Linked DNA regions of Homo sapiens: all the other regions are linked to region 1. Evidence: promoter capture Hi-C in 16 types of primary human blood cells and fetal thymus (Javierre and others, 2016). All regions are on one chromosome and are shown on one strand. Each heading gives the region's core, a stretch centred on a gene start or on the middle of the fragment in contact. The rest is flanking DNA. Distances are from core to core; before and after follow the strand shown.

Evidence for each region. Contacts are between HindIII fragments. The CHiCAGO score rates a contact against its expected background, and 5 or more counts as called.
Region 2: the fragment with the promoter of HS3ST1 here is called in contact with the fragment with the promoter of WDR1 in region 1 in 6 of 17 cell types (M0 macrophages, fetal thymus, naive B cells and 3 more); the score reaches 11.4 in M0 macrophages.
Region 3: a contact is called between a fragment that was not itself captured here and the fragment with the promoter of WDR1 in region 1, in 1 of 17 cell types (M0 macrophages). The highest score is 5.2, in M0 macrophages.

Annotation. Positions count from the first base shown.
Region 1 is chr4:10,114,325-10,118,482 of GRCh38, forward strand. WDR1 (WD repeat domain 1) reads right to left here and starts at 2,475. Exons shown (of 15, transcript NM_017491.5): 1 at 2,327-2,475; 2 at 1,789-1,910. The coding sequence starts at 2,342. LOC124900666 (a long non-coding RNA gene) reads left to right here and starts at 2,765. Exons shown (of 2, transcript XR_007058030.1): 1 at 2,765-4,158. It also overlaps the pseudogene RNA5SP155. RefSeq lists enhancers at 1,332-2,136, 1,787-1,936, 3,707-3,806, 3,887-3,976 and silencers at 2,017-2,166, 2,247-2,656, 2,667-2,786. The HindIII fragment of the contact is 9,752 bases long and covers 1-3,331 here.
Region 2 is chr4:11,426,463-11,430,803 of GRCh38, forward strand. HS3ST1 (heparan sulfate-glucosamine 3-sulfotransferase 1) reads right to left here and starts at 2,432. Exons shown (of 2, transcript NM_005114.4): 1 at 2,237-2,432. RefSeq lists an enhancer at 2,088-2,307 and a silencer at 2,398-2,577. The HindIII fragment of the contact is 3,893 bases long and covers 1-3,765 here.
Region 3 is chr4:11,489,792-11,494,166 of GRCh38, forward strand. No RefSeq gene overlaps it. Among named protein-coding and RNA genes, the nearest start is that of HS3ST1, 63 kb to the left of the region's middle. The HindIII fragment of the contact is 1,150 bases long and covers 2,005-3,154 here.

The sequences.
Region 1 (4,158 bases), core at 1,225-3,724:
CTTTCTGCAAAGGGGTGCCTGTCCCTGAATGACCACTCCATTAGAAGCAGCTCCAGTTACTGGCCTGCCTCACCTTGCTAAGTCTGACTCCTCTTTAGAGTAACGGACCCATGTGGGGTGGAAAGAGATGCTACAGTTTAAGAAGCTATCACAGGGCCAGATGCACAGCAGGTACTTTATGTGAGGCCCCCTCCCTGGAAGTCAATGTGGACTGCAACGACAGGGAAGGCCTGGTTAGGGGCAAAACGAAATATCCTACTGCTCTGTATCCGAGGACGTGTTAGTGGATTTTATTTGCCAAACTACTAAATATCTCTTTAGGGTTGTCTCAATTTTTATTTTCTCAAAAGCCTCAGGACCTGCCTTCGGAGACTTCCAGATCATTACCATTAGATCCCTGGTGATTTTCTCCAGTTCTAAGCAAGGCCCTTCGGCTTTCTAGGAATCTGTGTGACTAGCAAGTTGTTAGCACCTTCAAAGCACATTCACACCCGCCCACCCCCTCATTTGAGGGGCCCAGCAATCCAGGGCAGGTAGAGCTCTGTCTTCCAGCAGAGGAACAGCAGCGACTGCCTGGGTTAACGAGACAGATGCGGGCAGAGCCAGCAGCTCTTCGGACCAAGAGGCTTCTCCTTTCACAGAGAAGGAAACTGAGACCCAGAGACCCCTTCATTCCCTCAGCCAGTTGCTGGCCTCCTGGAGGGCAAGTGTGTCCGATCAACAGTCCCAACCTACCAAGGGAAATCAGGCTGACTTTAAGTTGACAACCCTTGTATGCCTATGGCATCAATCAAAACATACATCTTTGTGCCAGCCGCCCCCACTAAGCACAGCACAGGAGAAATCACCCAATGGCCGGGCCGGCACCTCCAACTCCCACCCCACCAATTCCATCACTCAGGCTGAGGAAGGGAAAAGCAAAATTTAAGCGTGTAACCCAGGAAGGGAGGGAGACTGACAGACTGGGTCACCCCAACAATTACAGAGGAATAACATGAATTTGCAAGGATTTCCCAAGGAGCTGGCTCTAGAAGCCTTTTCAGCCTGGGTACCGGAGGCTTGCAGAGAATGATTCATGGGAAAACACTGCTTCCTGTTTTTGCTTTGGGGCTTAGATCCATGGTGGCAGATCTGGCTGGCCCAGAGGCCCGGGTGTTTTTCCGGGCTCTGCCATACTGGAAGACCAGGGTATTAACAGCGAGTTAGCTGAGTGCCATTCCATTCAGCAAGGGCTCAAAGTGCACCAGGCACCGCTGGGCTTGAGGGACGCCAGCAGCTCATTCATTCCATCTGCCCAGCCAGCAGGCGAAGCGAGAGTGGTCATCATCTCATCATCTGTTTTACAGACGAGAAAACTGGGGCTCAGAGATGCCCAAATCGCCAATCTTCTCAAGGTCACGCAGCGGCCGACCGGGTCAGTCTGATCCCTCAAATCCGGAGCCCTTGCTTTTAAGGAATGAACTAATCTAATCTCCCATCCACGTACTAACCAGGCCTGACCGTGCTTAGCTTCCAAGATCAGAGGCGATCCGGCGCTTTCAGGGTGCTATGACCGTAGACAGAAACGAACTAAGACTCAGTTTCCTCATCAAGAAGGAGCAGACAAGGACCTGGGTGAATCTGAGGCCGGCTTCCGGGGCTCCGAGGTGTGGCTCCCGGTAGAGGGGGCGTGGCGCCCTCACCCTCCCCGGGCCAATGGGCAGGAGGTGAGAAGTGGAGAGGAAGGCGAATTATCCCATCCCAAGGTGGCTCCGGAGCAGAACCGCGCCCGGGGTAGGGGGTACTCACGTCGATGTTCCTTAGGATGACGCACTTTCCATTGGTGTACAGAAAATTGTTGCCCTTAGGGTCGCCGCCGATGATCTTGGAGACGCCCCTCTCCACCTGCGGGAGGCTGGCGAACACCTTCTCTGCGGAGACACAAATGCGGCGGGGCATGTCAGGGCAGGGCGGGGACGGCGGGGACAGAAGGGAGAAGGAGCCCCGGACCGGTCTCGGCCGGTCACCTGTTGACTGCGCCGGGAGGGCGGCCTCCACTTTCCACGAGCGCCAGGAACCGCGCGACTTCCTGGTCCGCGCCCCGGGCCAGGCCCTTGGGGGCAGCGGGGCTCCTCCGGCTCGGCCCACGGCGCCAACTTGGGGGCGCACCCCCCGTCGGGGGTCCCGCCCTGCACCACCGAGGGCGGCCCCGCCACGCCTCCGGCCGGCGCCCGCACCCCTCCCCCGCGCCGAGGACTCCCCCGCCACCCGCACGGCGCCTAGGGGCCGGGGACCGGGGCCGGGGCAGCGCGGCGGCCGCTCGGGGGCCCCGCGCCGCGGCACTTACTGATCTCGTACGGCATCCTCGCCCACTTGTTACCGCGCCGCGCTCGCCGAGAGCCTCCGGGGCCGGCCCGCGCTGCGAATTACACCTCGCCGAGGCCGAGCCCGGGGACTGGAGCCGGAAGGCGGCACCGGGCGTGCCGGGAGTGGAGTGGGCGGTCCGAGGCCGGGGCTCAGAGGCCAGCTCGCGCCTGCCCTGCGCGCTGTGGTTGCGGACGCCCCGAACCCGGAAGCGCGGTCCCGCGCGCGGCTCGCCCCCAGCTTTGACCATATATAGTCAAGCGCTCGGCTCGGCGGCTGCGGTCCCGGCGAGCCTGCGCGGACCTGGCGCTCCCCTCCCCCGCCGGCCCCGGCCCCGCCTCCGCCTTGCTCGCCCCGCCCCGGAAGTGACGTATAGCACGCCCCGCGGGCCCTTGAAAAGGCGGCGCAGACAAGCAGCCGCGTCAGAATGCTTCTGGGAGTCGGGGGGTGGGTGCCTTTCTGTTGCTAGCTTGTAGGAGAAGCTGGGCTGTAGGAAGTTTATTTGCGGGGGGGTCTTAAAGACGCTGAAAGTACTGGCGGGCTTTGGTGGGGGTCTGGAAAAACCTCTCTGTACCTGTGACCGCGTTGCGTGGCGGGCGCTCCCCGGCCTCTCCTTTTTGACCGGTCCCGGGCGTTGCCCAGCCGCCAGTCCTCCTGCTCGGGTTTTGTAAGCAGGAGAGGGATGCTTTTTACGTCTTCTTAAAGTACGGTTAAGTGCCCTTGCTTGAAGTAGTTGCTGGCAACAAGAACGTAGGGGTTACTCTTTGTTGGGCCTGAACTCGTGCTTTTTCTCTCAAAAGTTGAGCTTTTGAAAGGCAAAAAAGGCGTGGGGGATGGGGGAGCTGTCGGTCTTAAGGAAGTTAAAGGTTATTTCCTAAACAAAACAAGTCTCACTCCTAAAACCAGGGTAGTGGCTCAGTTGTGGCGGGAGAGCAGGGGCTGTAAAGTGTCCAAGTTTCTAGTCTCATCTTTCAGTAGGATGGGTACAAGCTTTCCCCTTGGGGCTCTGGGGGCTGGGAGGGTTGTAAAAGTGGGAGAAAGCAAAGTATTTGGCGGGGTGCGGGCGGGTAGCTGAATGTTGTTGTAAGTGGAAGAGGAATGCTGTTGGCGTCTTTCTCTAAGCACGGTTAAGTGCTTTTTCTTGAAGTAGTTACTGGCAACAAGAACGTAAGGGTTACTCTTTGTTAGGCCTGAACTCGTGCTTTTTCTCAAAAGTTTAGCTTTTGAAAGGCAAAAGTGGGGGTGGGGGCGCTGCTGCTTTTAAGGAAGTTAAAGGTTATTTCCTAAGAAAGCAAAACAAGCCCCACTTGTAAAACCCGGGTAGTGGCTCAGCTGGAGAGCAGGCGCTGTGAAGTGTACAAGTTTCTAGTCTCATCTTTCAGTAGAATGGGTACAAGCTTTCCCTCGGGGCTCTGGGGGTGGGAGGGTTGTAAAAGTGGGAGAAAGCAAAGTACGTGGGTGGGGGGTAGCTAAATGTTGTTGTAAGCGGGAGATGGATGCTTTTGGCGTCTTTAAGCACGGTTAACTGCCCTTGAAGTAGTTGCTGGCAACAACGTAGGGGTTACTCTGCTGGGCCTGAACTTGTGCTGTTTCTCTCTCTCAAAAGTTAAGGTTTTTAAAAGGCAAAGGCGTGGGGAGAGGGGTAGGGGAGCTGCTACTTCTAAGGACGTTAAGGGTTACTTCAGAGCAAAACAAGCCCCACTTCTAAAACCAGGGCAGTGGCTCAATTGTGGAAGGGAGAGCAGGGAATGTGAAGTGTCCAAGCTTCTAGTCTCGTCTTTCAGTAGCGTGGGTACAAGTTTTCCATTGGGGCTC
Region 2 (4,341 bases), core at 1,182-3,681, 1.3 Mb after region 1:
CTTGAGGCTTCATTCTAGACATAACCACAGGAAAGTAAAGAACCCTTTGCTTTTTCCGATGCCATCTCAAGATGCCAATTTCTCACCAGCTTCTCAGAACAAAAATCTCCTATCTTAAAACTACAGAGCATTGTATACCCTGTGGCATCACAGAGGATCCACAGTCTAGAAGCACAGCTTAATAAGCCTCACTAAGGAATCTTCATCTATGCTGCTGTTGTAATTAACTGCTTCCACTTAAGAGTGCTTAGTCATGAAGTTGTCCATCCCTGTCAAACTCAGCTGAAAGAGTTAGATGGGCTAACCAAAACCTGGAAAGACTCTTTTAGAAGCTGTTCTTTCTCTGCTTAGCGCTGGAGAAAACCTTATGTAACACAATGGTCCATTTCAATATGTTATTTCTGCAATCCTGTGGGGGAAAATCTAAGCGCTGGATGTACAACGGGAAGGGTAAGGCAGGGATTTGCAGCGGAGCGCGCGTCTCCTGGAATTTCAGTAGGTAAGGCTTATTCTAATTGCACCCAGTGTTACCCAATATTACCAGGAATGCAGAAAGCAAGAAAAAAATCCGAACGTCAAAGGATGCGCTTTGCTTTAGAAATGCAGGGAGGCAGAAGTTGGGTTATTTCTCCCTCCTTTTTTTTTCTTTTTTTTTTAAAGATGGAATTCCTGGAATTAACCCTTGGGTGGAAGCATTTCAACAAAATAAAATGAGATTTGCCTGCAAAGCGAGAACGCACGGGTGGGAATGAAGGATCCTGCCTGTGCCAGGCTGCTGCCTCAGCAGTGTCCAAGCACCCAGCGCCTGAAAGCGGGAGCGTGGGGACTCGTCTGGGGACCCTCTTCCGGGGCTACTGGCGGGAGGCGCAGCCGAGCTGGTGGTGGCGGGGTTTCCCTCCGGGGCTAGGGCTGAGGGAGGAGAAGAGGGCGGACTGGCTCCTTCCGTTCTCGGCCACCCTCCCCGCCACTCCTTGAGGCTGCTCCATGCTAACAGGAGACTGTTTCTCGGAGCGCAGCGCAAAGACAGTGGATTTGGAGTGGCCTCCCTAGAATCCCCCCAAAAGCATCTTGGCACAAGTTGTAGATAAAAATAGCTCATGATAACATTGTGGGAAAGGGAGGAGCGAGACTCGCGCAAGGCGAGGCAAGGGTACCACTGGATCTGCAAAGGAGGAGGAAGAGGGAGGATGCAACCCTTGGCCCAAGAGAGCGCCCTGAGTGTGCGAGGAATCGCTGGCTCCCAGGGGAGGGAAAGAGATGGAAGACCTATAGCGCCTATAACTGCAGAGTTATAGACCTATAACTGCAGAGCCCAGCACACCCCATCCCGCGCCGGCACCCGGCTTTGGCTCCAGCTTCTTCTTCCCATCATCCGCCTACGTTCTGGGTCTGTCCTCCGCTTCCTGGGACAGGCTGGGGCTAGAAGGAGGAGCAGCGCGCCGTCCGCCCCCTGGCTGGTAGAGCGCACCTGGAGAGGTCAAGCTCCGCGAATAAGACCCTTCCTGGGAGCTGGGGTCTAGGCGTTCCAACCGCGGGTTCGCACCCCGCCATCCCTCACCTCCATCCGCTGCCACTACCCAAGGGCCCGGAAATAGAAAACCACGAAGGGGGAAAAAAATCAGTAAAAAGTAACAAGAAAAAAATCAAGACCCTCATGTAATTGGCATTAGGGATGAGAGGTTTATTGTCAGGGCTGTCACCTCAATCTCTCTCTTTGGGAGATGCCTATCTCCAACCAAATGCAAAGGCAAACCCGACCAAGGCTTCTCCACCCCCAAAGGCTCCCTCAGCCGAGTTACTTTTGCGGGCTGTGTCCTCGCCCCAGTTTCTGGCCCCAGGTGGTACCCAGGATCCGTTGAGTGCTGCGCTCTCGCTGCCCTACAGGGTCCTATGGTGAAGCTGCGGTCGCGAAGCGGCCGGCAGGAGCGAACCTCACGACTCTGCAGGGGGGGAAAACATCCAACCCAGTAAGAGTCAGAAATCTGGGTCCCTGTCCTTACAGATCAACCGGTCCCTCGGGACTTCCAGAGCAGAGGTGCTAGGGCAGGAGGTGAGGAGGATGGGAAAATCCCCAGCCTTTGCTTCCTGGTTCCCTCTGCATCCACTCCACCTGCTCCAGCCTCGATTCTTCTTAGGTTCTGCACTTGCCCGAAGTCCAGAACGCCAGACAAAGGCACCTCGGAGCCCTCTACACCTGCGTCCTGCCACTCTCCCACCCCGCGCGCGCCGCACTCACCTGAGCCGCGCCTCTGTCCAGCCCGTCCGGCGCCCTAAATAGGCTCCTAGGCTGGGCCATGGGCAGCACTGCCGAGCACCCGCGGCGGGTAGAGCAAGTTTCTGGATGGCCCGGGGCAGGCGGGCGGGGAGAAGGCGCAGGCACCCACTGAGACCCGGCTGTCGTGGCGGCGACTCCTGGCTGCCAGGGCGCAGAGGACCTTGCAGGCGGGCGTTTTGGTGCTCAATCCCGAGGAGGGGGAGGAGCGGGAGGAGGAGCGGGAGCAAAAGGAGGGGACGGAGGAGGCCGGGCCCGGAGGGAGAGCGCGTTGGGCAGAGGAGGATCGCGAGCGCCCACTGCTGCCCGGCCCGCTCGGGTGCCGCCCAGAGTCCGGCCCGCTAGGTGCCTGGTGCTCCGCTCTGCGCTCAGCTGCTCCGCACAGCCCCGCCTGGCACGCAGCTCCAGCGGCTGGTCGGGTAGTAGTCGGTCCCGCCCACCCGGTGCGGTGGCCCCTGGGGTTTCAGTCCAAGGGGAGGGACCAGCGCTCCAAGAAGGTGAGGCTGCTGGGATGGGTGACTCCGCCGTCACTGCAAACACGGGACGTCCCGTCTACTCCCTTACGCCTGCTTGGTCTGAGCCCGAGTCTACCTCTTCTCTAAGTCGCCAGCTCGGCACTTGTACCCGGGACCTGTGCTCCTCCCACGTGAGTCTGCACCATGCGTATTCCCTTCCTGGCAGGTGACCCACCTTAGGCGCTGGCGCTCCTTCCGCCCCCCGGGAAGCAGGAGGTGCCATCCTCTCCAATTCGCTCTGCAGCCGGACTGGGACCGGAGCGGCGGCCTGGGCCAGAATCCGCGTGAGGAGCCGGCTTCAAAGAGCGCCCTGTCGCCATTGAACACTCCTTTTCCTTTGGTTTAGCGTCGGAGAGCGGACGCCAATTTGCCAGGAGAGCGCGGAAAATTCAGCTTTTTTTTTTTTTTTTTTTTTTTTTTTTTTCCGCTAGTGCACTAGGATTGCAAACGTCAGCTCTGAAATAAAAAGCAGGATATTTCTGCCCCGCTCCTCTATTCCGGAAGCTGGGAGGTTCTGTGGGAGAAAGGACCTGCACCCAATAACTCAATTTAAGATTTAAGGTTTTGAGGGGCGTGGGGTTGGAATCGCCTTGGAGAAACGGGTTTGCCTGCTTACCTGAGCCAAAGGAAGTTGCCCTCAAAGGCAGGTCAGCAATCATACCCCGCCAAAAGCAAATGCACATCAAAGTAACTTCCTTTAAATGAGATTACTGTAGTTTCCATGTCTTCCACATTAGTAAATAAATATTTGGAAGACTTCGAATTTGTGATTTACGTTTAAATATATTTCACCAACATTGTTTAATTAAAAAAAAATCCCATCTAAGAGAAGGTTCCTATAGGAAATTGGCCCTTTAACTCATACACAGATTACCCTCGGCACTTTCAGAAAACAACACAGTGACCAGTATATTCTGTCTTTTTGATACAGCCAGAAGCACCCTGAAAGCTGAGACCTAACTGTGCTTTTGGAAAATAAGCTTTTAGGAGTTGAATGACCTTGTCTACTTCTTTTAGTCAGAATAATGTTGGCATGTCTATTTTAGGTTAAAAAAAAATACAAATTCTAAAAAGTGACTTTAAAGGCCCACTTTGAAAGCCTTAGCATTTAAACTAACATTAGATTTAAAAGAAGGGCTTTTCTCCCCCATTATAGGAAGCTGTGTAAAATCATGTGTGAGGTTGTGAGGGTCAAATGGAAGTCTAAGATAAAGTTCTGCCAATTACTGGTGTCTTTAAGCTTCCACCAGCAGCCAAGCACAGTGCAGATCATGAGTCCTTCAAAATACGGGGTGGTTTTAATGCTCTAAGTTGGTATGATTACTTTTTCTAAAGAGCTCAAAGTGCTTTGGTGCCATAGTATGAATTTCATTACCCATTGTGAGACACAAAGGGGGTTAGCAATGATTCTGTTTGCACCCTGGAAGCCAAAGGCAGGTTACTCACCCACTTAGTTCCCTACCACAAGACCTTGAAAGAAACTGGAACCCCAGGTCTCCAGCCCAGAGATTTTGTTGGAAGTTTCCATTTGCAGGAAATGACTGCAGGGCACAT
Region 3 (4,375 bases), core at 1,330-3,829, 1.4 Mb after region 1:
TTGAAGCCCAGCTAGCGATTTTTTAAGAAGAACATATGTATTCACAGAATCAGAGCCAGCTGGCAGTGAGTAATATCAGTAAATGAAGATCCTGTTAAGACACTCATCTCAAACTCTGTAACACCAGGAGGTACAGTGTTGTATAAAGAGGTAGGGAGGGTTGGGGAGCCTGATAGCTCAGTCCCAGGGATAAACTTGGCATATCTTCCTGCTAACAATTTCACTTGAATGATGAAGATAGTGGGGAAACAGGTAAATGTTTATGCTTAGAGTTTATATCATATCCAACAAATCTGTTTTAATTCCACACAATTACTTGTTAATTTTATGTGCCAGGTTTACATTTTGATAATAAAAGGAAAACATTAACTCTTACACATCCGATCAATTCTTTACACCAAATTCTCAAATTTGATTTTTTTTCACAAATATATAATTCTGCTGTTTCATTTTCAACTTCAGTGAGTTTTCTCAGCGAATCTGTGTGATTTGCATGTAGTGACATCAGCATCGTTCTGTGTTTAGATCCTGCCCTGTCCCCCGACATTATGCACAGATATAGATGTGAAGGTGTGCTTGAAACCCACTGGAATGTCCTTCCCGAAGCCTGCTGAGTTTCTCTTCCAATGTTTCATGATGGCTTCAAATATGAATCACAGTTTTCTTATACAGTTTTGTTTCCCTGGAAGGTTTTCTTTTCTCTTCTTAAATTTTTTTGCAAATTGTGCTTTCATCTTATTCCTCCTCATCTTCTTCTTCTTCTTTTTTCTTTTTTTTTTTGAGAGAGTCTTGCTCTGTCACCCAGGCTGGAGGGCAGTGGCGCAATCTCGGCTCACTGCAACCTCTGTCTCCCAGGGTTGAGACAATTCTTGTACCTCAGCCTCCTGGGTTGTTGGGATTACAGCTGCTCACCATCACGCCTGGCTATTTTTGTGTGTGTGTGTGTGTGTGTGTGTGTGTGTGTGTGTGTGTCTATTTTTATTAGAGATGGTGTTTTGCCGTCTTGGCCAGGCTGGTCTCAAACTCCTGACCTCAAGTGATCCTCCTGCCTCAGCCTCCCAAAGTGCTGGGTTTACAGGCCAGAGCCACTGCGCCCAGCCTACTTATGCCTCTTGTTTCTACATTTCCAACCTTACTATCTGTTCTGATTTATCCCTTTTTAGGGGGTGATCATTCTTTTCATTCTTTTAACCCAATACAGATTATTTGCCCTGTAAAATGGCTTCATTAACAACATTCTCTAGACTTCCTGTTTCTACTGCCCTGTATTGATCTCACCACTTTCTGGTGGTCATGTCATCTTTTTTTTTTTATTTTCGTGTATGCTGGAGTACATTCTCAAGGAACTTCCTAAGAGTGTATGTGAGAAATAAACTTCATTCTTATCTTCCCTGACAATTTGGCTGTGTATAAAATTCTGGGTTGGAAACTGTTTGTCCCTTACATCTTGGAAATCCTTTCTCTGTTGTTTTCTGGCATCCAGTGTTCCTGATGTATTTGAAGATACCCTAACCTCTCCATAAGACTGTAGGTTCTTTGTTTTATCATTAGTGTTCTATTTTTTTTTTTTTTTTTTTTTGACTTGGGGTCTTTCCTTGTCACCCAGGCTGAAGTGCAGTGGTGCCATCTCAGCTCACGGCAACCTCCACCTCCCAGGTTCAAGCAATTCTTCTGTGTCAGCCTCCCAAGTAGCTGGGATTACAGGCATCCACCACCATGCCCAGCTAATTTTTGTGTTTTTAGTGGAGACAGGGTTTCAACATGTTGGCCAGGCTGGTCTGGAACTCCTGACCTCAGGTAAACCGCCTACGTCAGTCTCTCAAAGTGCTGGTATTATAGGTGTGAGCCACCACACCCAGCCTGAATTTTTTAAACGACATCCCTAATGAGAGCTTTCAAAAAACCATCTCGTTTGGCACTTAGTGGGCCTTTTCCTTTTTACTGGCATCATATTTGCTGAAGGGTTAACAAATAATTGAATCTACTCTTTCGAAGTACAGTTTAAGCTTTCATAAAGGTATACTATCATGTATTCATCACCAACTGATGATATAGAATATTTCTAGCAACACCAAGAGTTCCCTCTTGCTCCTTCTTAATTGATCTCAACTCCTCATCTCCAATTTCTGACAACCACTAACCTTATTTCCATCTCTTTATTTTGTCTTTGCCAGAATGTGACATAAATAGACTCAAACAGTATACAGACCTTTGTGTCTCACTTCTTTCACATAATACTTTTGAGATTTATTCATGTTGTTGAATATATCAGTAGCTTGTTTCTTATTATTACTGTAGTATTCCATTATTGTTTATTGTTACTGTAGCATTCCATTGTTGGTATGTACCAAAATTTATTTATCCAATCACCAACTGATGATTTGATGGTCCTTTGAGTTGCTTCTTGATATCATATAAAGATGCTATAAACTTTTATTTACAGGTGTTTGTGTGGCCAGATATTTTGACTTCTCTTGGGCAAATAACTAGGAGTGAGACTCTTGGGTCATCTGGTAATTACTTATTTATGTTTATAAGGTATCGACAATTATTTTTTCTAAAGAGGCTGTACTGTTTTATATTTCTACTTGCAGTGCATGAAAGTATAAGTTTGTCTGAATATTCATCAACAGTTAGTATTTTCCATTTTTCCCTATTTATTTTTTAATATTAACTATTCTAGTGGAAGTGTGGTTGTATCTTATTGTGGATGGGACATTTTCCATTTGAAGATTTCCATTTCCTTCAGTTCTACACACTTTTCTTGTATTATATCTTTGGCAATATCCTTCCCTGTCTTGTCGCTATTACTCTTGTCCAGGATTCCTTTTATTCAATGCCGGGACCACTGGATTTGTTTCTTCTCTTACGTTCTTCTCTATCTTTTTATATCTAAGTTCTGTGCAATTTCTTTGACTTTACCTTTAGCCCATGTATTTTTTCCCTTTAATTTTACATGTAGTATTTTTTAACCCCCAAGAAGTCTTGTTATCTTACAATTTCTTTTTTTCCAACGCCCTATTCTGGTTTTTTGAAGGCAAGTTGTCCTCAAATTTTTGTCAAGATGTGAATTGGAATCTGTTTCCTGATTAGAGCAATCTATTTCTCCTTGAGTCTTTATTTCTCAATTATTTATCTTCGTCTTCCTCCATCAAGCTTTCTTCATATTTCCTGTATTATCTTTTCACATTAAGGAATTAGGCAAAAGGAGGCTTCCTGGAAGTTCCATGTAAAAATGAACAAGGCGGGCCGGGCGCAGTGGCTCACATTTGTAATCCCAGAGCACTTTGGGAGGCTGAGGTTGGTGGATCACCTGAGATCAGAAGTTCAAGACCAGCCTGGCCAACGTGGTGAAATGCCATCTCTACTAAAAATACAAAAAAAAAAAAAAAAAAATTATCTGGGCCTGGTGGCAGATGCCTGTAATCCCAGCTACTTGGGAGGCTGAGGCAGGAGAATTGCTTGAACCTGGGAGGCAGAGGTTGCAGTCAGCTGAGATTGCACCACTGCACAAGGCAAACAGAACAACAGACCTTGCTTTAATTTGTCTCCTTTCCTGTTCATTTGTACATATATATAAAAAAAGGCAAGAGCTCTGGTTTAAATCATTGAACATCCAGCTGCAAAGGGGGAAATGCTGCAGTGGATATCTATTAAGAATCAGCTATGTTCCTAAACCCTTTCAAATAATAGCAATACATGAACAGTTATCTAGTGCTTATAATTTTCAAGACCACCTTCCAAACACTTCATTTATTTAATCCTCACAAGAACGCTGTCAGAAATGCCTATTACTATTATTCCTCTTTAGAGATGTGGAAATTGGCACACAGAGAGGTTAAGTAATGTGTCTAAGGTTGCACAGCTGATCAGTGGCAAAGCTGGGTTTGAAAGACAGTGGTTTTGATCCATTGTCTTTGCTGCTAGGCAGTGTTCTAGACTGGCTCTTAGACATCGACTTTCTCCCTGAATCCCTCTAACAAATTGGTGAGGTGGCCATTATCATTGCCACTTTATAAAAGAGATTTCTGAGGCCCAGAGAGATCGAATGACAAACTTGATTCCCCAAAGTCAGATGAGTAGAATCTGTCTGACTCCAAAGCCTGAATTCTATTGCCTCAGATTTGTCCAAAGAATGATAATTTTAAATACTTACAAATGAAGATTTCTTGACAATTAAATCAATGTTTATTTGAAGTAGGGTAACATATGAACTCAATATTTTGTTTTAAATGATAAAAACAACAAAAAAATCTTGTTACTAATGATCTGTGAGAACTGTCTCTTTTACTTTGGAATGAACAATTAAGATTTAACATATCAATTATGTTGTTTCTCAATAACATAACGGATCAATAACCTTCATTTTGTGTTC